Linked DNA regions of Homo sapiens: regions 1, 2 and 3 are each linked to region 4. Evidence: promoter capture Hi-C in 16 types of primary human blood cells and fetal thymus (Javierre and others, 2016). All regions are on one chromosome and are shown on one strand. Each heading gives the region's core, a stretch centred on a gene start or on the middle of the fragment in contact. The rest is flanking DNA. Distances are from core to core; before and after follow the strand shown.

Evidence for each region. The method cuts DNA at HindIII sites, captures the fragments that hold promoters and counts their contacts. A CHiCAGO score of 5 or more calls a contact.
Region 1: a fragment that was not itself captured here is called in contact with the fragment with the promoter of LMAN2L in region 4 in 1 of 17 cell types (megakaryocytes); the score reaches 5.4 in megakaryocytes.
Region 2: a fragment that was not itself captured here is called in contact with the fragment with the promoter of LMAN2L in region 4 in 2 of 17 cell types (neutrophils and naive CD8 T cells); the score reaches 7.9 in neutrophils.
Region 3: a fragment that was not itself captured here is called in contact with the fragment with the promoter of LMAN2L in region 4 in 15 of 17 cell types (M1 macrophages, M0 macrophages, M2 macrophages and 12 more); the score reaches 12.6 in M1 macrophages.

The regions. Positions count from the first base shown.
Region 1 is chr2:96,525,654-96,532,411 of GRCh38, forward strand. It overlaps LOC105373496 (a long non-coding RNA gene), which reads right to left and starts at 6,653. Exons shown (of 3, transcript NR_135564.1): 1 at 6,574-6,653; 2 at 4,081-4,196; 3 at 2,287-2,530. RefSeq lists silencers at 1,547-1,886, 2,037-2,136, 6,367-6,446 and enhancers at 2,997-3,146, 5,357-6,148, 6,149-6,758, 6,647-6,696. The HindIII fragment of the contact is 468 bases long and covers 4,383-4,850 here.
Region 2 is chr2:96,510,197-96,516,581 of GRCh38, forward strand. No RefSeq gene overlaps it. Among named protein-coding and RNA genes, the nearest start is that of NEURL3, 8.0 kb to the left of the region's middle. The HindIII fragment of the contact is 2,764 bases long and covers 2,087-4,850 here.
Region 3 is chr2:96,589,201-96,595,201 of GRCh38, forward strand. KANSL3 (KAT8 regulatory NSL complex subunit 3) reads right to left here. Exons shown (of 21, transcript NM_001115016.3): 21 at 3,972-6,001. Among named protein-coding and RNA genes, the nearest start is that of KANSL3, 46 kb to the right of the region's middle. The HindIII fragment of the contact is 317 bases long and covers 4,251-4,567 here.
Region 4 is chr2:96,736,458-96,742,460 of GRCh38, forward strand. It overlaps LMAN2L (lectin, mannose binding 2 like), which reads right to left and starts at 3,607. Exons shown (of 8, transcript NM_030805.4): 1 at 3,397-3,607; 2 at 1,492-1,610. The coding sequence starts at 3,583. RefSeq lists enhancers at 1,983-2,922, 2,923-3,860. The HindIII fragment of the contact is 9,784 bases long and covers 1-6,003 here.

The sequences.
Region 1 (6,758 bases), core at 3,367-5,866, 210 kb before region 4:
GGGCAACATAGCAAGATCCCACCTCCATAAAATTTTTTAAAAGATTAGACAGGCATGGTGGTGCATGCCTATGGTCGTGGCTGCCTGGGAGGCTGAAGTGCGAGAATCACCTAAGCCTAGGAGTCCAAGGCTGCAGTGAGCTGAGATTGCACCACTGCACTTCAGACTGACCCTGTCTCAAAAAAAAAAAAAAAAAAAAAACAGAGAGATGCTCCCAGCTTTCTTCCAGGAGCGAGGTATTCCCTTCATCCCTTGGGATTAACAGTCAATGCCACCCCCTCTAAGCCACTTATTGTGATATTGACATACTTCAGTGTCAGTACTAGGGACTGCTCCAAGTCCCAGCATGGCTGGGACCACCCTGGTGCCTTCCCCCTCTTCAGACTCCCCAGCAATGTGACAACTGAGTGGGGGGTGACACTAGGTCCTCTGGTAGGTCAGGAGCTGTAATGACCCAGTCCTGCCGGGCCACCCTGTAGCATCACGCTGTGGCAGGGAGGCAGGGATTGCAGGCACCTGAGTCCTCCTCACACGCTCAGCTGACCCCGCAGGTCCCTGACCTAGGCTGTGTTTGGTGCCTGTCCTTGCATATGGCGGGCAGCAGCCAGGCTTTGTGTGCAGCACTGTGTCACAGCCGTCTCGCTGTCTGCAGGACTGTTACCGGTGACAGCAGCTATGTGCCTGGCCCTTCTGGGAGCTCAGGAGGGTCCTGCTTACAGGGCGAATTTTGTGCTGAGACAGCTGAGAGGCCAGGTGTTCTGGGCGGCCCAGGAAAACCAGCCGTCAGCATCTCCTGCCCACACCTGTCCTGAGGTCAGAATGAACTTGAGTCCAGCAGGCTCCCAGAGCCAGAGAGCTTCTGCACCTGCAAAGCCCGGCTCCCTGCTTCAGACTGAAGGTGGGGACCTGAAGAGAATGCATACAGGCACCTCAGACTGGACACAGGGGTTGCGGGGGGAGCGGAGGGGAGCCCCTGGGCCCACCCCACCCACTCCACCCTGGCAATTCAGCTTGAAACAAATGATTAGCCTCTCTGTATAGATCCATGTTTCTCTCCTGGGCATGTCGGTTCGGTAAAACCCCGTTCATTTGGGCCTCACTGTGACCTCTAGGACGCTGGCCAAAGGGCAAGCGCCGCCAGGCCAAGGGGCCTGGGAGTGAAATCGTGGGTGAGGATAGGTGACAGGGGTGTTGAATCGGCCCGAGCGGTTCTTTCTTTTCGAGTTAATTTCGCATTGGTCTCTAGGATGCAAGCTTGTCCAACGCGTGGCCCAAGGGCGGCATGTGACTGAGGAAGGTTTTGAATGCGGCCCAAATTCATAAAGCTTTCTTAGAACACTGAGGTATTTTCGCGATTTTTTCTTTTAGCTCACCGGCTGTCGGTAGTGTTAGTGTATTTTACGTATGGTCCAAGACAATTCTTCAACTTCAAAAGACGGAACGCCCCTGCAATGGGACGCCAGACACCTCTAAGAGTGGGTGTAGGCCTCCAAAAGTGTCCACATGATACTTCCAGAAAAACTTCACATGCGGAGGTGTGCAGGAATGTGCGTGCTGCTAGAAAAGAGGCCTAAGGGGTCTGCCCAACGTCCTGAGAACCCGAGAGAGCAGGGCCCGCTGGGACAGGCAGGGGAAGGCCTCGGGAGGGACACGACGGTCCGGCAGCAGAGCCTGCGGGGCTGGAGGAGGCGCCCTCCTCTCAGCTGCTCTTCCTGCCCCTTTCGGTGGCGAAGATGGATGGGGCCCGGGGCTTTCGGCGGGGCCCGAGGGGCCGGCGAGGCTGCGGCCCTGGAGCCCCCTGCCTGGCAGCCATTTGGGCCCCAGGGAAATATCGGCGCTTTGGCTAACCGAATTATTCTTTCGGTTTGAGCCAGCTCCCCTTTTTGAGTCAGATCCGGCGGCAGGGCCAGAAAAGCGCTTTCTGAAACCCCAGCGCGGTCCTCGGTGGGGGTGGAATGGGGTGGGGTGGGGGGCGCGGCCGCGCCGCTGGGCGCCCTCCCCGCCCTCCCCCCTCCCCACCCCCAGTCCTCCCTCCGCTGCCCGCCCCCCAAGCCCGGTGTCGCCCCCTCCGCCCCCTGCCGCATCCCCGGAGCCAGTGCCCACAGGGGCCAGGCAGCCCGCAGGGGTCGCTCACGGCTGGTGTAGGGGCTTGGTCCACCACGCTAGTACTTCGGGCACCAAAATAGAAAAAGAATAACGCTTGGAAAGAATCTGATGTTTCCGAAGGAGCATCGAAAATCGCCGTTACGGGAAAAGTAAAACTCTTGAGGGACTTCCTTACACTAATTTAACTGTCCCGGGTTGTTTTTATTTCTAATTGTGCTGGGGGGATGGGCATCATGATCTGTTTTCAGGGCTTAATGCCCCCTCCACGGTCCCTGGGGGACCTCTGGCCTTGGTGCCTCTCCAGGACATCCTGATGTCTCCGAGGTCCCATTTCAACTCCCTGGGGTCCCGGGCTGCCCAGCTGTTATTTTGCAGAATTTCTCTCCCACAGTGTCACCAGTAGTTCTGCTTATCGCTCCTGCCACTGAGTCACAAGGGGAGGAGGGGATTTCTGAGCTGTTTCAACACTTACCCAGAATATTAGGGGTTTCATGCAGCCCTTGTTTATTTAAAAAAAAAAAGAAAAGAAAGAAAGAAAAGAAAGCCCCAAAGCCAACAAAATATGACACACACGTACAGAAGGAGGGAAGGCAAGGGGGTGGGGGCCTTGCAGAACCAAATGGCCTATCTGCTGAGCTGGGGCTGGAGCTGGAAGTCAGGTTTCCTGTCCCCACTCCCCCAGCCTGGGCCCACCCCGTGCCTTCTGTTTCACCCAGGGCTGTGGAAACCAGCTAATGTTTATGGAGCACTTCCTCCCGCCAGCGGGCACAGTTCTAAGCCCTTTATAAGAAATAGCTCATCCAATGCCCGTAACTGCACCCGGAGGCGTGAGGGCTGTTATTGTGCCTGCCAGCCGGTTTCATAGATAGGAGACAGCACGGAGAGTTCAACTGCACTGGGGTACTTGGGTTTCCTGTGGAGAAAAATTTGCCCATCGCTTTGGCACAGAATCTGTGCCAAGACAGATTCTCAGCCAAGGCAGGCCTCAGAGTCCCCAGAGTCCAGCTACAGGATGCCCAGAACCTCCCTCCAGCTGAGACAAGCTGGCCAGGGGCTTGGGACCTCTGAGCTCCTTGGGGAGCTGAGGGGGCGCTGTCCTGGAGTCCAAGACCTGGGCTGTGTTCACTACCCCTGGCCAGGATTCAGCAGCAACACAGATAACCAGGAAAGGGGCTGTGGCCTGAGCAGCCAGCCTGCAGCCATAGGGAGGGTGTGACTCCAGCGAAACTCCAGCAAGAAGGGCCGCATGTGAGGTCAAGTCCCCAGCATCTAGAATGTGCTGCCCTTGACAACTAGGAAGCGCTAACCCCTGGGGAAGAAAGGGCAGATGTTGCCTGGTGATGGAGGGAGATGTGGGATAGGGGTGGAGGTGGGTGCATGGCCTCTTCCTCCTCCCTCTCCTCCGTGCCCTTCATTCTCCTTCTGTGGATCTTCATTGAGCACCTACTGTGCACCTGCCCTCAGTGGCCTCTCACTTCCTCCTCTTCCTTCCCAATTCCTTTACCAACTGTGAGATCTTTTGAAGCGACTGTGAGACCTTGGATAAGTCCCTTCCCACTTAGACCCTCAGTTTCCTCTTCTGGAGGAGCAGTGGCCGGGGTTCTGCGGCCCTTTCAGCAGCGTAGTGTGGGCAGATAGTAAAGACCACTCCTAGCTGGAGACGAGAGGCTCGGGAGCTGCTGGCCAGTCACACAATGGCATGGGGCTGACCACAGGAGCACGATGTGGCACATGCCCTGCTGGAGGTGTGTGTTGAGACCCCTGGGTATCTGCCTCAGGTGGGCCCTTGAAGGATGAGCAGAAGCTCACTAGGTAAATACAGTGGGAACTGCCAAGCCCGGGAAGGTTCCTCCAGGCCAGAGGGTATAGCCCATGCACACACACAGCTCCAGAAACAGCACCAGGCACTGGGGCAAAGCCCTCCCAGTGTGGCTATATTGCCGTATGTGCCAGAGAGGGGGGATGCCAACCTACCTCCATGTCCAGAGCTGTCTTTACCCAGGCCCAAGGCCCAGCCCTCTGCCTTCAGCCTCCACGCAGCCCTCTGTCTTCAGCCGTGGCCACTACCACTCAGGAAGGTCTGGAAGAGCCTGCTGAGGCCAAGGCAGAGAGAGCGAAGGCAGTTTTAACAGAGCAGAATCCCTCAGGCAGGCCCCATGGCTGAAGACACCATGGCATAGGTGGGCAGCTGGGGTGAGGGAGGGGGGCTGGACAACCCTGTGTCCTCTTCTAGGAGTCCAGGGCAGGCCAGGGTGCCCCAGATGTGGGGAAGAAAAAGCTTCAGGGGCTTCTTGTAGGCTCTCTGGTGAGTTAGTGTATACATATGTTTGTGTGATCCTATGTGTGAGCTGTGGGCTCCTGGCAGGCAAGACCCATGCATAGATGCACAGGCGTGTGTACACAGCTTTGCACACTCACATCTGGGCGTGCAGCAGCAGAAAGGATGCACAGCAGGTGCGGGGAGAATGAGAGAGCTCTTGGGGTGTAGACAGAACCACGTATACCTGGGTTCACCTTGGGTTCTCCCTGCCAGGTACTGTTTCCAACAAAGGTAGTTGGGATGTCAGGCAGGGAGGGTAGCCCTGCCTGTGGCAGGTGCCTGGTGGATGATACCACGATGATGAAAGCAGGGGCCTGGGCTTCAGGTCGGGGCTGCAGTGTGGGGGAGCCACAGCAAGAGTATGAAACCTCTGGGGGATCTGGGTTCTTGGAGCCAGCTGACCCCAGGCCATTGCAAGGCTGAAAGCTTTAGTTTTCATATTCGCAAAGTCCCATGAGTTCATCTGGGGAGGAGGAATTAGAGCAGTCCCTCCCCCAAAAGCCTGGGCTTCCAGTATTGAAGGGGTTAGTGGGGCCTACTCAGATTGGAGATGAGTCACTGACTTCCCCCATAATTCCTCCCTTCATGCCCGCATCCTGGCCAGAGCCTAGGACCCCACCAGGAACCTCGGGAGGGCTTTGCAGCTGCTACCCAAAGACCTGGAAAGCCCGATCGGGAGTGGGGTCTCAGGGCCCAGCCCCAGGTCATCAGGGCAAGGCCTGAAGAGTGCAGAATCCACCCTGCAGAAGTTCTGATGCCACCGGCGAAGGAGGCTGTTCTCAGGTAGCTGCCACAATAGAATGACCAGTTGTTGAAGGCTTATGTTATTTCTCACCCTCACAGTAATCTTGCAAGCTAGGTATTGCTAACGCCATTTCACACGGGAAAACTAAGGGTTGGAGACAGTGAATAACCCATCCCAGGTCATACTACCTGCAAGGGAGGGTACCCGGATTGCAAACCAGTCCACCTGACTCCAGAGCCGGGGAGGTTTCTGTTCTCTGGACTGGCTGAGAAGCTCCCAGGGAGGCATGGACCTCTCCTAGCCTGTCGCTGCAGGAGTCAGCATGTGGTGAGAGCCTGCCTCAAGTGTTTGGGGCCCGCCACCATAAACCTGAGTGATTCCACACGGCCTAGGAATGGCTGGGAGGCCATTAGGAAGTCTCCGGGCCTCTTTAGGGCTACAGAGGGTGAGATGACGTCTGTGTCCTGCTCACAGCTGAGACCCAATTCACATTGTGGGTCCTGGCTCAGAGGGTAGGCATTATAATGAGCCTGAGGGCATCTTTTTTTTTTTTAAGTTGGGGTCTCGCTCTGTCGCCCAGGCTACAGTGCCCTGGTGCGATCATAGCTCACTGTAGCCTTGAACTCCTGGCTCAAGAGATCCCCCTCCCACCTCAGCTCCGGAGTCACTGGGACCACAGACTTGCACCACTGCCTCCCACAAGGGTCAGCTTCATGATCAGCAGCTCTCCCCAGGTCACCATAATCCTGCCCCCAGGATGCGGAAAGTGGCGCTGGCAGTCACCACCGCCTCCATAAGTCTGGCAGATTCCCAGCCCTGCGTTCTCCAAATACAGGGCAACTAAAGGGAAAAGGGGGAAATAGGAATTAAGGCATCACCCCTCACCACTTTCCAGTTAGTCTAGGGGGAAATCGGCACCTCTCCAGAGGTTTGGGGACCCCTCTTTCCATTCCCTGTGTCCCCAGGCCGATCCCCAGCCCTTTACTCCAACGGTAGACCTGAAGCTGTCGAGATATCAACTCAACATCTTAGGAGGGAGGGGAGACACTGAAGAAAAAAAAAACAAAACAGCTGCCCCCAGGAGGGACAACGATTCTCCCAAGAGCAGGCAGTCCCGAACTTCTCCCAGCACCCTGAACAATGAGGTAAACGGAGGTGTGGCGGGCCGCTCCCCCTACCCCTGCTAGCTGGATGCCAGCCCCCACCGCAAGCCCAGGGCTCAGCTGGCAGGGCCCCGCATGCAGCCCCCGCCGGGGGCAGGGCTGAGTGGCAGAGCGCAACAGCCGTGCCCCCTTCCTGGCCGTGCTCCTGCCTGGGCCTCTGGAGCCTGCCTCTCCCCCTCTGATGTAAGCTGATATTTTAATTCTCTTACAAGGAATGGTGTTTAGAGAAATGACTTAACCAGATTACTCATCGTCTCTAATGACTTGGCCCGACTCCAGCGCTATTCCTAGACGTGACGCTTGAGGCTTCGATTCTTTCTCTCTTTCCTTTTGCTCCTTTTTTTTTTTTTTTAAATACCAAGAAATTACAGCCCTGCCTACGCGGAGGCCCAGCCCCTACACGCCCCCTTTGCATGGTATCCTG
Region 2 (6,385 bases), core at 2,219-4,718, 230 kb before region 4:
CATGCGTGTGCATGTGTGCATGCATGTGTGTTCAACAGGAATTGATTTAGTGCCTGCTATGTGCCAAGCACTGTCCCAGTTCTGGGTAACCAGAGATTGAAGGAAACCCAATCCTCATCCTTCAGCCACTTTGTGCATGCCCTGGAATTTAGGTAAGTGCTACAAGAGGGCCAAACTGAGGGCTGGGAAAACCAGCGGTGTCGAGGGGTTGTTATGCCCAGGGAATGGGTGAAGGTTTTGTGGAAGAAGAGTTATTAAAATTGTGCCCTGAAAGGTAAATAGGATTTCAACAGCCAAGAAAGGAATGAAAGGCATTTCAGGGAGAAGGAATACACACACAAAAGCATAGGAAAGGAGACATGATCTGTGCTGTATGGTTGTATCAGGTAGGATTAGGATTGCTTGCATGCAAGAGAATGTCCAAAAGGACAGTGGCTTGAGCAAGGCATGTTCATTTCTTTTTCACATAAAATAAGCTGAAGACAGGCAGTCCAGCTAGTCATGACACCTCTGCAGCCATAGGGGACCCAGGCTTTCTCCGCTGTTCAGCTCCACCATTCTAGCACTGGCCTCAAGGTCACGTCATGTACCAAAAGTGCTGCTGGAACTCCAGCCAGTACATCAGAGCTCCAAGCATCAGGGAAGAGAAAGACTCAAATGGGCACTCCTCTAAGCTAAGCCAAGCCAGCTTGCAATTAAGCTGATTTACTGGAGGGCCTATGTAACGTTTTCATTTATAGCTCATTGGCCAGAACCTTGTCACATGGCCACAGCTAGCTGCAAGGGAAACTGAGAAATGTGGTCTTTATCGGGAAGAGCAGCTAAAAATTGGGGTCTGTCACTAAGGAAGAAGGAGAAACTGGATGTTGGTGGGAAGCCAGCACTGCCTAGCCCAGGGTAGAGTGGAGCAGTGGTCCTTCAACTTGTGGGGAGGGGGGCAGGAAGGCAGCCTGATCACAGGGGCCGTGCCGTGGAGGGGCTGGACTCTTCCATAGCAAATAGGGGATTGCTGAAAGATTCTCAGCAGGAGCCAAGGGTTGAGGAACCTGGAACTGTCTGCTTGGGGGAAAGAACCATTGGGCAGAAAATGGAAGCATGCAAGGAGGGGAAGGGAACTGTGAGAAGTTAATAAGGGCACGAGGCAGGGAAGGGCACCCCAGGAGAGCCAAGGCTAAGCCTGGCAACAGTGGGAGGTGATGCCAGGGCCCCGGGGAGGGACACAGATCTACTGAGGGTAGTCTGGGAGGAACACAGTACTAGCAGATAGCTGTGTCTGAGGCAGCTGTTAACCATCAAGTCAGGTGGCTCAAAGGCAACTGAGAATCCAAGTGGAAGCTCAGGTGAGATGACAGCACTGGGAACATAGATGAAGCGATCAGTCATACAGTGGTGGATGGGATCAGCCAGGCAGGGATCCAGTCGTTCAGCTGGAGGACTCTGATGGATCTTTCGGAGTTACTGGGGAAGGAGAACAATGGAGTGACCAACTGCATAAATTTTGAAGCCAGAGCTGGGTTCAAATCCAGACTTTAACAGCCATAAGCCTGTGGGCTGGCTAACAACACTTTCTAAGCCTTAATTTTCTCATGTGCAAAATGGAAATAAAGAGGCCTTCTGTGCGGGCTGATAGGAGGGCTGAATGAGTAATGAGTAGCACATTCCCACACAGGGAACTGCACTAACCAGTAAATACCTGCTCTTACCAGTAAACCACCCCCCCGCCCCCCACTTACTGAAGAGGACATCAGTGCCTTTCTTGGGGCCATTCACTGTGCCCGACAGTCCTCTCACTGCAAGGTGGGGCCCGTGGAGCCCTGTGTGGGATCGCTCAGGTGAGGTCACAAGCACTGTGCCTCTCCAGGACCCTGAGACCTCCAACCCAGCATGGCTAGGGCAGCCCCTGGCTCTGCCAAACCTCCTGGACAGGGGCATCTGCAGCCCCAGACAGGTGGGTCAAGAGAAGTGTTATGCCTCCTGCCAGCAGGGAAAAGGGGCCAGAGTAGGCCATGGCATGCCCCTTTCCTTAAAGGGCACAGCCAGAAAGAGCACACATGGCCCAAACTTCAGCTTGAATCCCATTGACCAAAGCTTAGTTGTGTGGCCACATCCAGCTGCAAGGAACTGGGAAGTGTAGGCTTCATTCTGGGCAATCATGTGCCCAGCTAGACAGAAATTGGAGTGTTCCAATATTACAATAGAGAAGGAGAGAATGGATATTGAGGGAAAACAGCAGCCATAGGGTGCAGGGAAAGAGAGAGGGCATGGCACCCTGGGTGCAGGGTGGTGGGAGGCTCTGAGCGCTGGGAGACCCCATGCCCCTGGGACTCACATGTGCTGCATGCACATCGCCTGGCACCCAGCCCGCAGGAACTCAGCTGTGGGGGCACTGTGGGTGGGTGGGCAGGGGAGCTGTTGTAGCTGAGAACCACCTCTACTGGCCAGAAGGACAAATCACCAACTTCTCCAGTAGAATTTTTCCAGATCCCTGGAGTTCCTTCTGGTCCCTCACCAAAGCCAAAATAGCGCAGAGAGGAAGAAAATATCTTCCTTCCACTCCTCTGAGTTTTTGCCCATTGTCAAAGCTCATTGCAGCCATTGTCATTGTCTCTACTGCCCAGGCCTTGGGCACAGTCCATCCTCCACAGGCAGGGATTGACCATTCCCTAGGTCTCCTGACACCCCCTCCACCCTGGCAGAGCTAGGGCCAAATGTTCCCTGCCAGAGTGGAGTGGACTCCAGCCCATTCTGTCTTAAGGAGCCTCTCCTCTCCCAACTTGAGCTTTTTTTTTTTTTTTTTTTTTTTGACGAGGTCTAGCTCTGTCAAGAGGGTGGAGTACAGTGGCACGATCTCGGCTCACTGCAGCCTCTGCCTCCCGGGTTCAAGCAATCCTCCCACCTCAGCCTCCCGAGTAGCTGGGATTACAGGGGCATGCCGCCATGCCAGGCTAATTTTTGCAATTTTAGTAGAGATGGGGTTTCACCACGTTGGCCAGGCTGGTCTCGAACTCCTGACCTCAGGTTATCTGCCTGCCTTGGCCTCCCAAAGTGCTGATATTACAGGCGTGAGCCACCATGCCCAGCCCCCGACTTGAGCTTTGAGAAGCAAGCTAAGAGTCAACCCTTCCCTCTGAAGCGAAGCACTACCTCTGCCCTGACTGGGCTGCTGCTGCCTCTCTCTGCTCCTCCTTGTGTGTGAAGATATTCGGTGGAGGGAAGAAAGACAGGGTCCTCAAATCCTGTCAGTGTATCTGAGTTGTCTTGGCTTGGGTTAGGCTCTGTGTCTTCCAGTAGCTAACCTGGAGCATGGGTCCCCGGCGCCACACGTGCATGCACACCGTCCTTATGCTTTCATTCCTTTCATTGTGACTGGACGAGTACTTACCTTCTGGTTTGTGCCTTCATGGGGGACTTTAGTGTCTCATCAATCCTTTCAGCCATACAGTCAGCACACACTGGGGGCCCATGATGTGCTGAGCCTTTGCAAGTGCCATGAAATAGCCTAGCACAGTCAGCAGCACAGAGTGGGGACTCTACCACCCACTGGCTGTGGGACTGGGGTGTATTACAGATGGGGACTGGGGCTCAGAAAGACTGAGTGACTCGTATAGGTCAAACCAGGACTGACCCCAAAGTTCTCCACCGTTTTGTTAATTCTAAAACAAAGATGAGGCCGAGCATAGTGGCTCATGCCTGTAATCCCAGCACTTTGGGAGGCGCCAGGTGGGTGGATTGCTTGAGGCCAGGAATTTGAGACCAGCCTGGACAACAGGGCAAAACCCTGTCTCTACAAAAAAATACAAAGATTAGCTGGGTGTGATGGTGGCACACGCCTGTAACGCCAGCTACTCGGGAGGCTGAGACACGAGAATCGCTAGAACCCAGGAGGCAGAGGCTACAGGGAGCCAAGTTCATGCGGCTGCACTCCAGCTTGGGTGACAGAGCAAGACTCCATTTCAAAAATAAAATAAAAAATAAGGCCAGGCACAGTGGCTCAGGCCTGCAATCCCAGCACTTTGGGAGGCTGAGGCAGGCGGATCACCTGAGGTCGGGAGTTTGAGACCAGACTGGCCAACATGGCAAAAACCCATCTCTACTAAAAACATAAAAATTAGCCTGGCTTGATGGTGCACACCTGTAATCCCAGCTACTCAGGAGGCTGAGCAGGAGAATCACTTGAAACCTGGGAGGCAGAAGTTGCAGTGAGCCAAGATCAGGCCACTGCACTCCAGCCTGGGTGACAGAGACTCCATCTCAAAAAAAATAAAAATAAAAATAAAAATAAAAATAAAATAAAGATCAGGGTCCTGAGTGAAATCTCACATGTCCTTTGAAAATGTGCAAAAGTACAGTACATGTACTGGGCGACATGTATCATTTTTAAGCCACACTTCTTTGTTCTCAGGTTTGTTCTGGATCATCCAGGTGGCTAAGTCAGAGGCTACTGGGTGGGTGTGGGGCTGCAGGCTTTGGATGGAACTGCAGACATAGCATGCATGTTTGCATGAGTCACTCCGCGTGGAGGCTGCAGGTGAGTGCATTAGCTGAGGGTAGTGTGCTATTTATTTGAGCCGAAGTAAGGAGACTGCCTGGATCCTCTGGATCCTCTTTCTCCATTCAGAGAGAAGCCCACTGCCTCCTGCTCAAGGGCTCCAGGGACTCCAGGGTGGATGGGGTAAGCAAGGCTCCATTTTCATGCTGCCGATAAAGACATACCCGAGACTGGACAATTTCCAAAAGAAAGAGGTTTATTGGACTTACGGTTCCACATGGCTGGGGAGGCCTCACAATCATGGTGGAAGGCAAGGAGGAGCAAGTCACATCTTGCATGGATGGCACCAGGCAAAGGAGAAAGCTTGTGCAGAGACACTCCCGTTTTAAAAACCATTACATCTTGTGAGACCCATTCACTATCACAAGAACAGCACGGGAAAGATCCCCCACGCCATGATTCAATCATCTCCCACTAGGTCCCTCCTTCTCCTTGTCTCCTTTCCTGCGGATGTTTTCTTCCCTGCAGCCCAGTGCACCCAGGTAGCCTCTTTCCCCTTGATTTTACTCAGGTAGCACTGACACAGACATTTGTGAGCAACAACTTTTACTGAAGGTTTAGGGTCACACAAAGTGTGAGCAGGGAGGCAAGGCTTACAGTGCAGCTCACAGCACAGAGAACCAAGTTAAACTGAATCTCAGGCAACCATTATTTATTTTCTCTCTCTCTTTCTTTCTTTTAGAGACCCGGTCTTTCTCTATCACCCAGGCTGGAGAGCAGTGGTGCAATCATAGCTCACTGCAGCCTCGAACTCCTGGGCTCAAGTGATCCTCCTGCCTCAGCCTTCTGAGTAGCTGGGGCTACAGACACCTGCCACCATGCCTGATAAGTTTTTTAAAAAACTTTTGTGGAGATGGGGTCTCACCATATTGCCCAAGCTGGTCTTGAACTTCTGGGCTCAAGCAATCCTCCTGCCTCAGCCTCCCAAAGTCCTGGGATTCCAGCTGTGAGCCACCATGCACCCCCAACCCCTATTTTCAAGGGCCCTGCAATATTTGTGTCAACATGACATCACACTGTTCATTCTTCATAAGCCAGAGCCTTCCTCCACCCCCAGCCCCCTCATTCTCCCTCTCTTGGAGCCAATTCAAATCTCCTCACCCCCAAATCTATTTCTCATGCAGAGCAGTACAGCTCCCCCTCTGAACTAATATTATCCCCAGGCCTAACTTTGCGTGCCCCCAAATCTCCCTGAGGTGCTCTGCTAAACATCAAGACCACTGACTTCAGATTCTGGCAACACCATGGACTCAGCTAATGCTGATGCCACCTCCCCTGCCAACACTGAGAAACTCAGTACCAAATATAAGTGAAAGATGTTAGAACAACAGTGGAACTTGAAAAAGGAGTGGAGAAGCATTGAGGTGTCGAGTGTACAGAGAGAACTTAGAGCCAGATTTGGGCTTTAACCCAGGGGGCCCAGTGAGAAACTGGACATGGACGGGGGCCCCACCAACGGGAGCTGAGGGTTCAACACCCACTAGGATCCAGAGGTGTGGCCTTGTGGAGAACTGGAACTGAGACCTCTGTATAAAGCAAGAACCCTGGAAGGATGGCCCCTCAGAAAAGAATTACCCACAAAACTAGGAGGTGACACATGAATTTTGTCTTTGCCCAGGCCTCTGGGTGGAAGAAAAGTTTCCTGGGAAAAATCAAAACTGAAAACCAAAACTATTCATGAAGGTGGCAGCCAAATTTATGATATCCATATGGCAAAGAATTCCCAAGATGAAAAATTACACAAAAATGCTCCCCCATGAGCCCTTGGGAGCAGTTGTCAGAAACAAATACAAAACATCTCTGAGGCCATTTTCACAATCCAGAATATATAGGACT
Region 3 (6,001 bases), core at 3,159-5,658, 150 kb before region 4:
AAGGCCTAACATTACCTATAATTACATGTAAGAAAACAGTCTAAAAACTCTAATTAAAAGAATGATATTGGTATAGAAGAAAAATCATATGCTACATGCAGTCTACAAGAAATTCACTTGAAATATAATGACATAGGTAGGGTGAAAACAAAAGAATAAAAAATATGTCATGCAAACATAAATCAAAAACAAGTAGAATGGGTATAGTGTCAAATAAAGTAGACTTCATGGCAAAGAAAACCAACAGGGACAGAGGGACATTACATAATGATAAAAGGGTCAATCCACCAAAAAGACACAGAAATCCTAAAAGTGTATGTACCAAATAACAGAACTGAAAAATATGTGTAATAAAAACTGACAGAACTGAAAGGAGACATAGACAATTCCACAATTATAGTTGGAAATTTCAACACCACTCTTTACAGTTGACAGAACAACTTGACAGAAAATCAGCAAGGATATACAAGAACCTGACAACACCATCAGCCAACAATTTTATCGACATTTATGGAACACTCCACCCTACAGCAGAACACATTTAAGCACCCACAGAATACATACCAAGATAGATCACCCCTGGGCCATAAACCTCAACAAATTTAAAAGACCACAATGAGATACCACTACACACCTATTAGAATGGCTAAAATAAAAAATAAAAGAGGCCAGGCGCAGTGGCTCACACCTGTAATCCCAGCACTTTGGGAGGCTGAGGCGGGTGGATTACCTGAGGTCAGGAGTTCAAGACCAGCCTGGCCGACGTGGTGAAACCCCATCTCTACTAAAAATACAAAAAAAAAAAAAAAATTAGACAGGTGTGGTGGTGGATGCCTGTAATCCCAGCTACTAGGGAGGCTGAGGCAGAATTGCTTGAACCTGGGAGGCAGAGGTTGCAGTGAGCCAAGATTGCGCATTGCACTCCAGCCTGGGCGACAGAATGAGACTCAGTCTCCCAAAAATAAAATAAAAATAAATAAATAATAAAAGAGACAATATAGAATGCTGGCAGGAATGCCGAGAAAATGAATCTCGCATACACTGCTGATAGGAATGTAAAATAGTACAACTACTCTGAAAAACAGTGGCAGTTTCTTTTTTTTTTTCTTTAGAAACAAGGTCTCACTCTGTTGCTCAGATTGAGTACCATGGCACGATCACAGCTCACTGCAGCCTTGACCTCCCAGGCTCAAGCAATCCTTCCATTTCAGCTTCCCAAGTAGCCGGGACTACAGGTGCGCGGCATGACACCCGGCTAATTTGTATTTTTGTAGAGGCAGGGTCTATCTATGTTGCCTAGGGGGTTTCAAACTCCTGAGCTCAAGCAATCCTACCATCTTGGCCTCCCAAAGTGCTGGGATTACAGGTGTGAGCCATCAGGCTGGGCTGGCAGTTTCCTAAAAAATTAAAAACTTAACATATGACCTAGTAATCACACTCCTGGTTATTTACCAGAGAGAAATGAAAACTCATGTTCTCATTTTAAAAACTGCATACAATTGGCTGGGCACAGTGGCTCACACCTGTAATCCCAGCACTTTGGGAGGCCGAGGCAGGAGGATTGCCTGAGGTCAGGAGTTTGAGACCAGTCTAGCCAACATGGTGAAACCCTGTCTCTACTAAAAATACAAAAAAATTAGCCGGTCCTGGTGGTGTGTGCCTGTAATCCCAGCTACTCAGAAGGCTGAGGCAGGGGAATTGCTTGAACCAGGGAGGTGGAGGTTGCAGTGAGCTGAGATCGTGCCACTGCACTCCAGCCTAGGCGACACAGCAAGACTCCGTCTCAAAAAACAAAACAAAACAAAACAAAACAAAACAAAACAAAACCACTGCACACAATTGCCACAGTAGCTTTATCTGTAATAGCCCCCAACAGGGAACAAACTAGATGTCCCTCAATAGGTGAATGAATTGTTACACAAACTGTGCTAAACCCATACCATGAAATACCACTCAGCAATAAAAGGAATGAACTACTCATATACACGTAACAACTTGGATGTGTATCAAGGAAATGATATTGAATGAAAACAAGACAATCTCAAAAGGCCATGCACTGTAAGATTCTATTTATACATCAACCTATTTAGGACAAGTAGAAGAGATTAGTGGTTGCTAGGGTCAGGAATGGTGGGGAAGGAGATGGATGCAACTATAAAGGGGTGGCATGAGGGAGATCTTTGTGCTGATGGAACCATTCTGTATTTTGTTTATGGTTACAGCGATAAAATGACATAGAACTATACACACACATTGTACCAACTTCCTGGTTTTAATTTTGTATTATAGTTAAGTGAGATGTAAGTACTGGGGAAACTTGGTGAAGGGTGTTATACTATACTACAATTGCAGGTTAAAAACACACATATCTAACAGTCCAGCAGTGTTTTGCTTTGTTTAAATCCATCTACTTCTCCTTAGAAAAGTAATGATATGAACCACATGACTTCATCTTCTGGATACTATGATTGGACTGGGTGGGAAGAGATAAGGAGAACCAACCCACAAGTGAGAGTGAGCCAATCAGGCTGTCTTCAGAATTTGAACTGAATGAAAGAGACCAGCCATCCATAAAGGGTTCTGCAGCTAAAAAGTCCTGTGACAATAGGATCAAAACTGGATCCCGGCAAGTCCAAGCCACTTGAGGTCACGAGGCAAGTACCAAAACCGTGAGGCTCCTTGTCTATAAAAATGCCTAATGAGAGAATATTCCCTTTCAGAGCTATTTTGGTGGTGAATAGGTTTCTCCTTCTTGCAGCCATCAACCCTGACCAAAATGTGTGCTTGAAAAAGACATAAAAAGGTAAAAAAGACTTGTCTGCATCATTATTTGCTATGGCCCTGTCCCCATACCCCTGAAGTTTCAGAGAGCTGTCATTTTAACAATCTAATCCTCATCTCGCTTGACCTGACTGCTCAAGTCAGTGAGACTAGAGTTTGAGGGAGAAGACAGCAAACCAGATGTCTACTAAGGAGGGTAACACGATGTGCCCAGGTATACTGGACACTCCAAGCAGCATACCAGAACTATGGCCTCCACCCAGAGGGCTCCAATGCCAAGGGTAGTGACCTGGAATTTAGGGGTTAGAAGGAAGGTCCTCCTGAATACAAGTTAACAAATAATCTAGAGGTTGGAATTCATTCATTCATCTCTAAATCTTTATGTATTTATTGGCGGTGGGTGGAGGTATAGGAAGTGCGAAAGGATACTGATCTTTCAGGATCAAGGTTGAGGGACCCCACCTACTGACGTAGGCTCAGCCAAGAGCCCCACCATATCAACATCAATTACTCTTGGCCTGGTGGGAAGTAAACTGAAAAGGTCACGTGCAGGCCAAGCCACCATCTCCTCACCTCCTGGGTTAATCTCTACCTCCAGTCTCCCATCTTAGAACCCTAGCACAATGCAGAGTAGAAAAGACACTGACATCAGACTGTCTGGGTTCCAGTACTGCTTCTGCCATTTCCTGCTGTTTTGACTGCTCTGTGCCTGTTTCCTCACTTATAGAAAGGAAATTACAGGCTGGGTGTGGTGGCTCACGCCTGTAATCCCAGCACTTTGGGAGGCTGAGGCGGGCGGATCACAAGGTCAGGAGTTTGAGACCAGCTTGGCCAACATAGTGGAACCCTGTCTCTACTAAAAACACAAAAAATTAGCTGGGCGTGGTGTCGGGCGCCTGTAATCTCAGCTACTTGGGAGGCTGAGGCAGGAGAATTGCTTGAACACAGGAGGCGGAAGTTGCAGTTAGCCAAGATCGCGCCATTGCACTCCAGCCCAAATAACAATGCGAGACTCCATCTCGAAAAAAAAAAAAGGAAATTACAGTACCCCCTCATACCACCTGGCATTGGTGAGGTGATGATCACTGGCCTTACAATATCTTAGCTCTACCTTTGGTGCCCACTTCATTGGGTGGTTTCCAGAATACATATGAGAAGTCAACTGAAAAGAAGCTGAAGCAATCCAAATGTTGTTTTTGGTGTTTTTAATTGTTTTTGTTAATGTAAAAACAGAACCATCACAGCCGCTCAGCTCTATAACCCATCCAGCCCAAGACTGTTCTAGTGGTGAAACCAAGAGTAGACAGGTCTTCCTACCTCAGTGACCTCAAAACACAAGGACATCTCCATAGGGCATCAACATGCATCTGTCATCCAAGAATCTAAGAACTTCCTGATCCTTCCACATTTTCTATCAATAATATTGCCTTCTGAGGTTATGGATTCCAGGTCTTCTATGAAATAGGTAAAGCTTCCTTTCGCGTTCCAAGAAATATAGTTTGCGAAGGGAACTGGAAAACGTGACTCTAGGCCTCAGCCACTTCCTCTGTTACCCTGTGCAAGTTGTAGAACAATCCACGTTCTCACAGCTCCCCTTCTTCAGTTGTGGAGTTCTTCAAGGTGGACAGATCACACCTCAGGAAGTCATCCCTTGTAAGCACACTAGAATTTATCATAAAGGCAGGTCGGCTTGTTAGTTTTTCTTTGTCCCCAGCATACACTGAGCCAACAACTTAAGTCATGAATGGGTTGTTTAGGGCTCTGTCTGTCCTAAATGATTCCTAAAAGCTTCATATAGCTCATATAGTCTTATTGTCCACTGCTCTTTTGGTGTGGTATGATCCTACCTGTAAAGCTATCAAACCCCTGGGTCCTGGATGCCTCCTCCAGATTTCATACCTTCCTCAAGTTTACTAAATACTTTCTGAATTTAAGAATTTTGAGAAAGTCACCTACCAGCTAATGCAAAAACACAGCCTAATTCTGTGTGAATCCCTGTTGAGATCAGCTTTTCAGGTCAGGGAGGGAAGGTATGGGGTTTAGGGTACCCTCTCCTATCACACACATCCCCCCTGCCCACAGTACCCTGACCTACCTTGCCTGAGACTCCTAGACACTATGAGCTCCCTTCTGGCTGCCACTCAGACTGGCCAGGAAGGCTCCCAGATTGAACACAGGTGACCTGGTATAGATACACACTGTACTGTGGGCCAGAACCATGGACTACATTTTAAGCCATGTTGTGGGCCCTTCCTGCCTACAGAAAAGGACACTTGAGTGGAGTCACACTTGGGTTGCCTAATTTATTACCTTAACTAGAAACATTCTAAGTATGGGAGCCTGTTCTGGAGGATAGCTTCTAAACCAAATCTAAAACTATCTTTGCACACAAGTGTTGTGAAGAGGTAAGCAGGGGATCAGAGCTCCATCTTCTGTGACCACTTCTCCAGGGACTGCCACCTATAGGGCTCAGGTTGGTACCAACAGCCCTGCATAGTAGAGTCACTGTCAATCATCTTCCCACTTGTAAGCAGGAAGACAAAAAGTCTCATGAAATAGAAACGAAAACACTGAAGCATGGCCTTCATCGTCCTAATGCCACAAGTTTCCTGGGATGGCCAAGATACTACCTTAGCTTATTGTCCCTGCTTCACCTCCAGAGACTGGAGACAGAGGATTTTCCGGGGTTGGGGTTTCTTCTCTGACTTGGCAAATTCTTCTTTTTATCTCCAGCTGAACCACCAGTTCCTTGGGTAGCAGAGCAGAGACCTAAGCACAAACCACAGGGCTTACTAGCACATCCTTCAAGCCACTTCCTTTGCTGTTCTATTACTCTTCTTCAGCTTATCTGAACCTGCGGACTCTCTGGATACAGAAACTGCCCAAAGCATGGTGAAAAAGACAAAGGGCCCAGGTTTCACCTGGCAACCACTGCTCCCAACATCTAGAGTAAGTCAAAGAGGCTGAAAGATGACAGCCTAGTTCTCTTTGCCTTCATTATGATACTAACAAAAACCAGAAGTTTCCAGGAGTCAGCAAGCTACTCAGTATCTGACGTGGTTTCTAAGGTGGAGTTGCATGGGGAGCACTCTCCCGTGGCTGCTGAGTGAAGGCAACAGTGATGTCCAAAACAAGCCCGTCCGGCTCTGAACCACCAGTTGGCAGGCCAGGATGACTCCAGTCTTTAGCAAAGAGCTTTCCATTCTAACTCCCGAAATCC
Region 4 (6,003 bases), core at 2,357-4,856:
CTAGAGGCTATACTAGAACTGCTGCTACAAGTTATGTAGAGACAGACAGCCAGCAAGACAGCAGCAGAGTATCAAGCCTTGAACATAATCATCCGGTAACCCACAAGAGCCCCATCAACAAACCTGTAGAAGTGTAATAACATAACACATATTTCTATAACCATTTTAACTTGCCACAGTCTTTTCATGTCTATTGTCCTATTTTATTCTCACGACAACCCCAGTGGGCAAGTAAAACAGGTATTCTGAAGCTCATTTATCAGATAGAGAAACAGAACTAAGAAGTTAAATAATCTGCCTAGGGCTCACAGGAGGACTGTGACAGAGCTGGACCGAGAATCCCAGTCTTTCAACTGTCCTTTATCTCTGCTACGAAAACACAATGCTCTGTACTCTGTCCAAAAATGAGCTCGGCACTATGATCTAGGTTAAGGGGCCAGTTTGTGCAGATAGCTAATGTAGAAATTTCTCTTGCCCTCCTGAACAGGGAAAAGAAATCGTTCTCTTTTCTGAGATTCGCTTATCTACAACTAATGAGAAAAGCCACGTAAAAAAGTAAGTTCTTAGTTTAAGAGAATTCCAGAGAAAGTATCAAAGGATGCCAGAGTCATGCCCAAAAGTAAACTGGTCGTAAAAGATTTAGAAAGCCCTGGAAACAGAAAAGAAAGCATCATCTTACACTTGTACAAAATCACAGTGCAGCCACACCAGGAATACTGCATTCACTTCTTGTCGCCATACCTCAAGGAAGACAATGCAGCTAGAAAAGGTCCAGAGAAGGACAAATAAAATGACCAACAGCTCAGAGTGGCTTTCACATGAAAATAAAATTTTATATCAGACTCTTCAAATTGAAATAACAAGATGGGGATGCTGGGATAAGGTTTGGGATCAATTTAAGAGTACTCTCAACCAGGACCGGTGGCTCACACCTATAATCCCTGACCTTTGGGAGGCCAAGGCAGGAGGATTGTTTGAGACCAAGAGTTTGAGACCAGCCTGGGCAACATAGCAAGACCCCATCTCTACAAAAAACGTTTTAAAAATTAGCCAGGTGCAGTGGCACATGCCTGTAGTCTCAGCTACTCAGGAGGCTGAGGCAGGAGGAGCCCTTAAGCCCAGGAGTTTGAGGCTGCAGTGAGCTATGATTGTGCCACTGCACTCTGGTCTTCTTATAATCTTCTTACAAAGTGGTTAAGCAGGAGTTAAGTTATTATTAAACCCTAAGAAGTAGTACTATTGGGCCAATCAGGAATTAACGACATTTCAGGAAAAAAAAATGAATTATTTGCTATAATTAAATAGAGAGCATTTTCCTAAATACCTGATTTATTTATTATCAAGGTCAGAATAATCTCAAAAATAAAGATCCTTGATATCCACAGAAGATAGAATACCAGGGGGATAGACAGTAAAATTAAATCAGTATGCCACTGCTGAACTTTTTAGGCCTTTCTGGGTCACCAACACAGGAGGGAGAAAGATTCTTACCACCCGGTTCCACAAGGCACCCTGTTTACTTTGCATATCTGGGGTAAGGCGGATATACTGGGTCATCACCATGGCATTGCCCATCAGATTCCACAGTGAGGAACTGCCTGTGCCCACACCTACAGGAAGGAAGTAGATCAGTTCATACTTTTCAACACCAATCCATTCAGAAAGCAGCCACCACAGAGCCTCTGAAAGCTGAGCCATCATCTTTTTCCCCCTTTAATGTCACTCAATCTCCTATCTTCTCTCAGTCATGAATCTTACCATCTCTACAGCTTTCACAAGGCCTTTATCAGGTAAGGACCCCAAAGCACATCAGAACTCTCACTTTATGCATGTTACAGTAACCATAGCTCACATCCATTCTTCCCGTTTTATATGTGAGTAAACTTCAGCATCGTAAAAGAAAAAAATTTTCCTGAGTTATATCAAAAAGAGTTTGACAGGCCAGGTGCAGTGGCTCACCCATGTAATCCCCACACTTTGAGATGATGTGGAGGGAGGGCATCTTGAGGTCAGCAATTTGAGACCAGCCTGGGCAACATAGAAAGACCCTGTCTTTACCAAAAAAAAAATTAGCCAGGTGTGGTAGTCCTTGTCCATAGTCCTAGCTACTCAGGAGGCTGAGTTGGGAGCATCGCTTGAGCCCAGGAGATTGAAACTGCATGAGCCATGATTGTGCCACTGCACTCCAGCCTAGGCAACGGAACAAGACCTTGTCTCTAAAAATATATAAATATAAATAAAAAGAGTTTGACCCTCAGGCCTCCGGGGCTTAGTCACATTCTTCCTTTTTTTTTTTTCTTTGAGATGGAGTCTCGCTCTGTTGCCCAGGCTGAAGTGCAGTGGCATGACCTCGGCTCACTGTAAGCTCTGCCTCCCGGGTTCACGCCATTCTCCTGCCTCAGCCTCCTGAGTAGCTGGGACTACAGGCGCCCGCCACCACACCTGGCTAATTTTTTTGTATTTTCAGCAGAGATGGGGTTTCACCGTGTTAGCTAGGATGGTCTCAATCTCCTGACCTCGTGATCCGCCCACCTCGGCCTCCCAAAGTGCGGAGATTACAGGCGTGAGCCACCGCCCCAGCCGTCACATTCTTTCTTTAAACAATCCTTAAAGTGTGAAGCTACTCCCTGTACCCTCACCTATAAACTTCTTTAAGAATGAAAACTTTGTGTCTGCAAACCCATAAGCATTAGCAAAGAGACAGCACAGAGGCACTCCAGGCATGTAAGTGAATAAATGATTACCCTTAGTAGTAGAGTATACTCTTGCACTTTGAATTGTTTTCTGTCCCACTACCTACGCCTTAGTGGGGAAAGACTTGTGTTAGTTAAGCCATCTGCACTGGTTTGTCATCGTTTTGTGGCTAACTGCATTAATTTTCTGGCTGATAAGCTGTGCTTAGAGTTCTGTGAACCCTAACCTCTTTCACCAACAGGGCCCCTAGGCTGGAGAAGAGAAGGTGGTTCTACCCAGCAACATAAATTTATCATCTTCTCATTTCGTTCAAGTTCTACCCCAGTTCTTCCTCCTGCTTTATTTCTAGCACATCCACAGGTCCATCTGGAGACTGGCTCATTGCTAGTAGCCCTCAATCACTCCTCACCATTCTCAATTCTCTCCCCTTCCCAAACTCCTCCTGTCTAACTCCAGGCCTAGTACTAGTGGCACCCGACAGCCCTGCCTTTACCTACTGGAAACTTCCAGAGCTTGGCAGGCACACCTAACTCCTGCCTTTCAGACCTGTGGCTCCCAAACGCGGAGGGAGTCTCCGTGGGCCCCACCACCGCCAGCAGTTTCCTCCGGGCCACGAAGCCCTTCGCCGCCCCCGCCTCTACCCCTGAAATCAAGTCCCGAAGCCCGCCCCACTGCACGACCACCTCACCCTGGGCGCCTCACCCTGGTAGGGCTTCGACAGCGAGTGCTCCCGTTTCAAGTACTCGAACGTTTGACCCGCCCCGACTTGCTGTGGCCCCTGCCCAGACCCCAACAAAAGAAGAAGGAGTAACATCCTGGACCCATCCCGAGCCGACAAACATCGCCGCCACTGCTGCCACGACCCAAGGGGTCCCAGAGTCGCCGCCATCTTTCCCACCAACGACCCTTCATCAAAAGCCCGCCCCGTCGCCCAACCCATTGGCCCGAAGAGCCATCTGCCCTGCGTCCTATTGGCTTTCGTCAAGCCCCCGCCCCTGCAGGTGACTATATCACCGATTGGCTGGCTTCTGTATCAGTTGCCTTGCCAACCCAGAAAAGGGGCGTAGCCGAATGCCCAGCCCCCCCCCTTATTTGCATTTGCCCTGAGTTCCACTAGGCTTGCTGGGATACGTAGTTTATTTGTATTTTGTTTTCTGCGTACGAGAGTAAATTTAAAGAGATAAAACGTTTCTTCTGGTCCCAAACATTCTATCCTCTCTGCAATAGTACGCTCCTGACTGCAGCTCTCTGAATCAATTTGGAAGATATAGCAGTGAAAGGAGAAATAGACAAATCCGTAAAATAGCTGGAAAACTATCAATTTATAAAAGACTTGAACAGCACTACCAACTAACTTGACCTGATGATATTTATAGAAACTCCACCTAACAACTGCGGAAGACACATTCTCTTCAAATGCAAATGACTCCTTTGCCGTGATAGTCTGGGCCATCAAGCAACCTACAGATATAAAAGAACTGAAAGCACACAAATTAATTAATTCTAAAAGCCATCACCTCCTTTCCTCCCTTCCTCTTTTTTTTCTTTTTGGTTTGAGACGAGGTCTTGGCCAGGCGCGGTGGCTCACGCCTGTAATCCCAGCACTTTGGGAGGCCGAGGCAGGCGGATCACCTGAGGTTGGGAGTTCGAGACCAGCCTGACCAAGGTGGAGAAACCCCGTCTCTATTAAAAATAAAAAAAAAAATTAGCCAGGCGTGGTGGCACGTGCCTGTAATCCCAGCTACTGGGAGGCTGAGGCAGGAGAATCGCTTGAACCTGGGAGGCAGAGGTTGCAGTGAGCCGAGACCAAGCCATTGCACTCCAGCCTGGGCCACATAGAGCAAAACTCCATCTCAAAAAAAAAAAAAAAAAGAGAGACAAGGTCTTGCTCTGTTGCCCAGGCTGGAGTGCAGTGGCACAATCTCAGCTCCAGCCTCTCCCTCCCTGGCTGAAGTGATCCTGCCACCTTAGCCTCCTGAGTTACTGGGACTACAGGCACATCCCTTCGTCTTTATCCGGCACCACAACATGTGTCCAGACTGGTCTCCACGTAGCCACTAAAGTGATCCAAACTATCTAACCATGGTAAGTGTCAGGGTTAAATGAGTCAATATTGGTAAACCTCTTAGAACAGTGCCTTGCGTGTAGTAAGCACTATTTCTTTCTTTTTTCTTTTCTTTTTTTTTTTGTTTTTGTTTTTGTTTTTGTTTTTGAGACAGGGTCTCTCTCTGTCACCCAGGCTGGAGTGCAGTGGCATGACCACAGCCTCAACCTCCTGGACTCAAGGGATCTTCCCACTTCAGCCTCTCAAGTAGCTGGGACTACAGGTGTGTGCCACCTCACCTTGCTAATTTTTATTTTTTGTAGCTATGGGGTTGTGGGGGAGGTCTCACTAAGTTGCCCAGATTTGTCTCATACTTCTAGACTTCAGTGATCCTCTCTCCTCAGCCTCCCAAAGTGCTGGGATTAGAGGTGTAAGCCACCGCACCAAGCCATAAGCGCTATTTCATCATCATCATTCTTATTAACCGGGCCTTTGATGGCTCACCATCACCTGTGGGGAGGAGATTCAAGCCCCTCAATTTGGCACACAAAGCCCCCTGCCATCTGGCCCTGGCCTTATTGCCCATGACTCTTTTCCTCCATCTTTATGCTCCAGCTTCCCTTCCCTCTTTTTTTTTTCTGCAGTCCACTTCCTTCTGGAGGTCCTTCTCAAACCTCTCAGGCAGGGTAGATTCTCCTGTCTGAGCTCTCAAAGTGTTCCATGCACATCTCATATAGAGCAATTGACAGATCTGTGTTTATGTCTTCCCAATAGACTTAACCAAAGTTAACACTCTCTTGCTTTCCTGAGCATGAATATATTTAATAAGATAAACATAATTATGAGCCTACTTTACAGGGGATCAACTTTTTAAAATTAAAGCTGTCACAGCTATTTTTTTTAAAGAGATGGGGTCTTGGCTGGGCACGGTGGCTCAGGCCTGTAATCCCAGCACTTTGGGAGGCAGGCGGATCACCTGAGGTCAGGAGTTCAAGACCATCCTGGCCAACATGGTGAAACCCCATCTCTACTAAAAATACAAAAAATTAGCCAGCCGTGGTGGCACACGCCTGTAGTCCCAGCTACTCAGGAGGCTGAGGCAGGAGAATCACTTGAACCCAGAAGGCGGAGGTTGCAGTGAGCCGAGACCGCACCACAGCACTCCAGCCTGGGCAACACAGTGAGACTTCGTCTCGAAAAATATATATATACATATATATACAAAAATTAAATGGGCGTGGTGGCAGGTGCCTGTAATCCCAGAT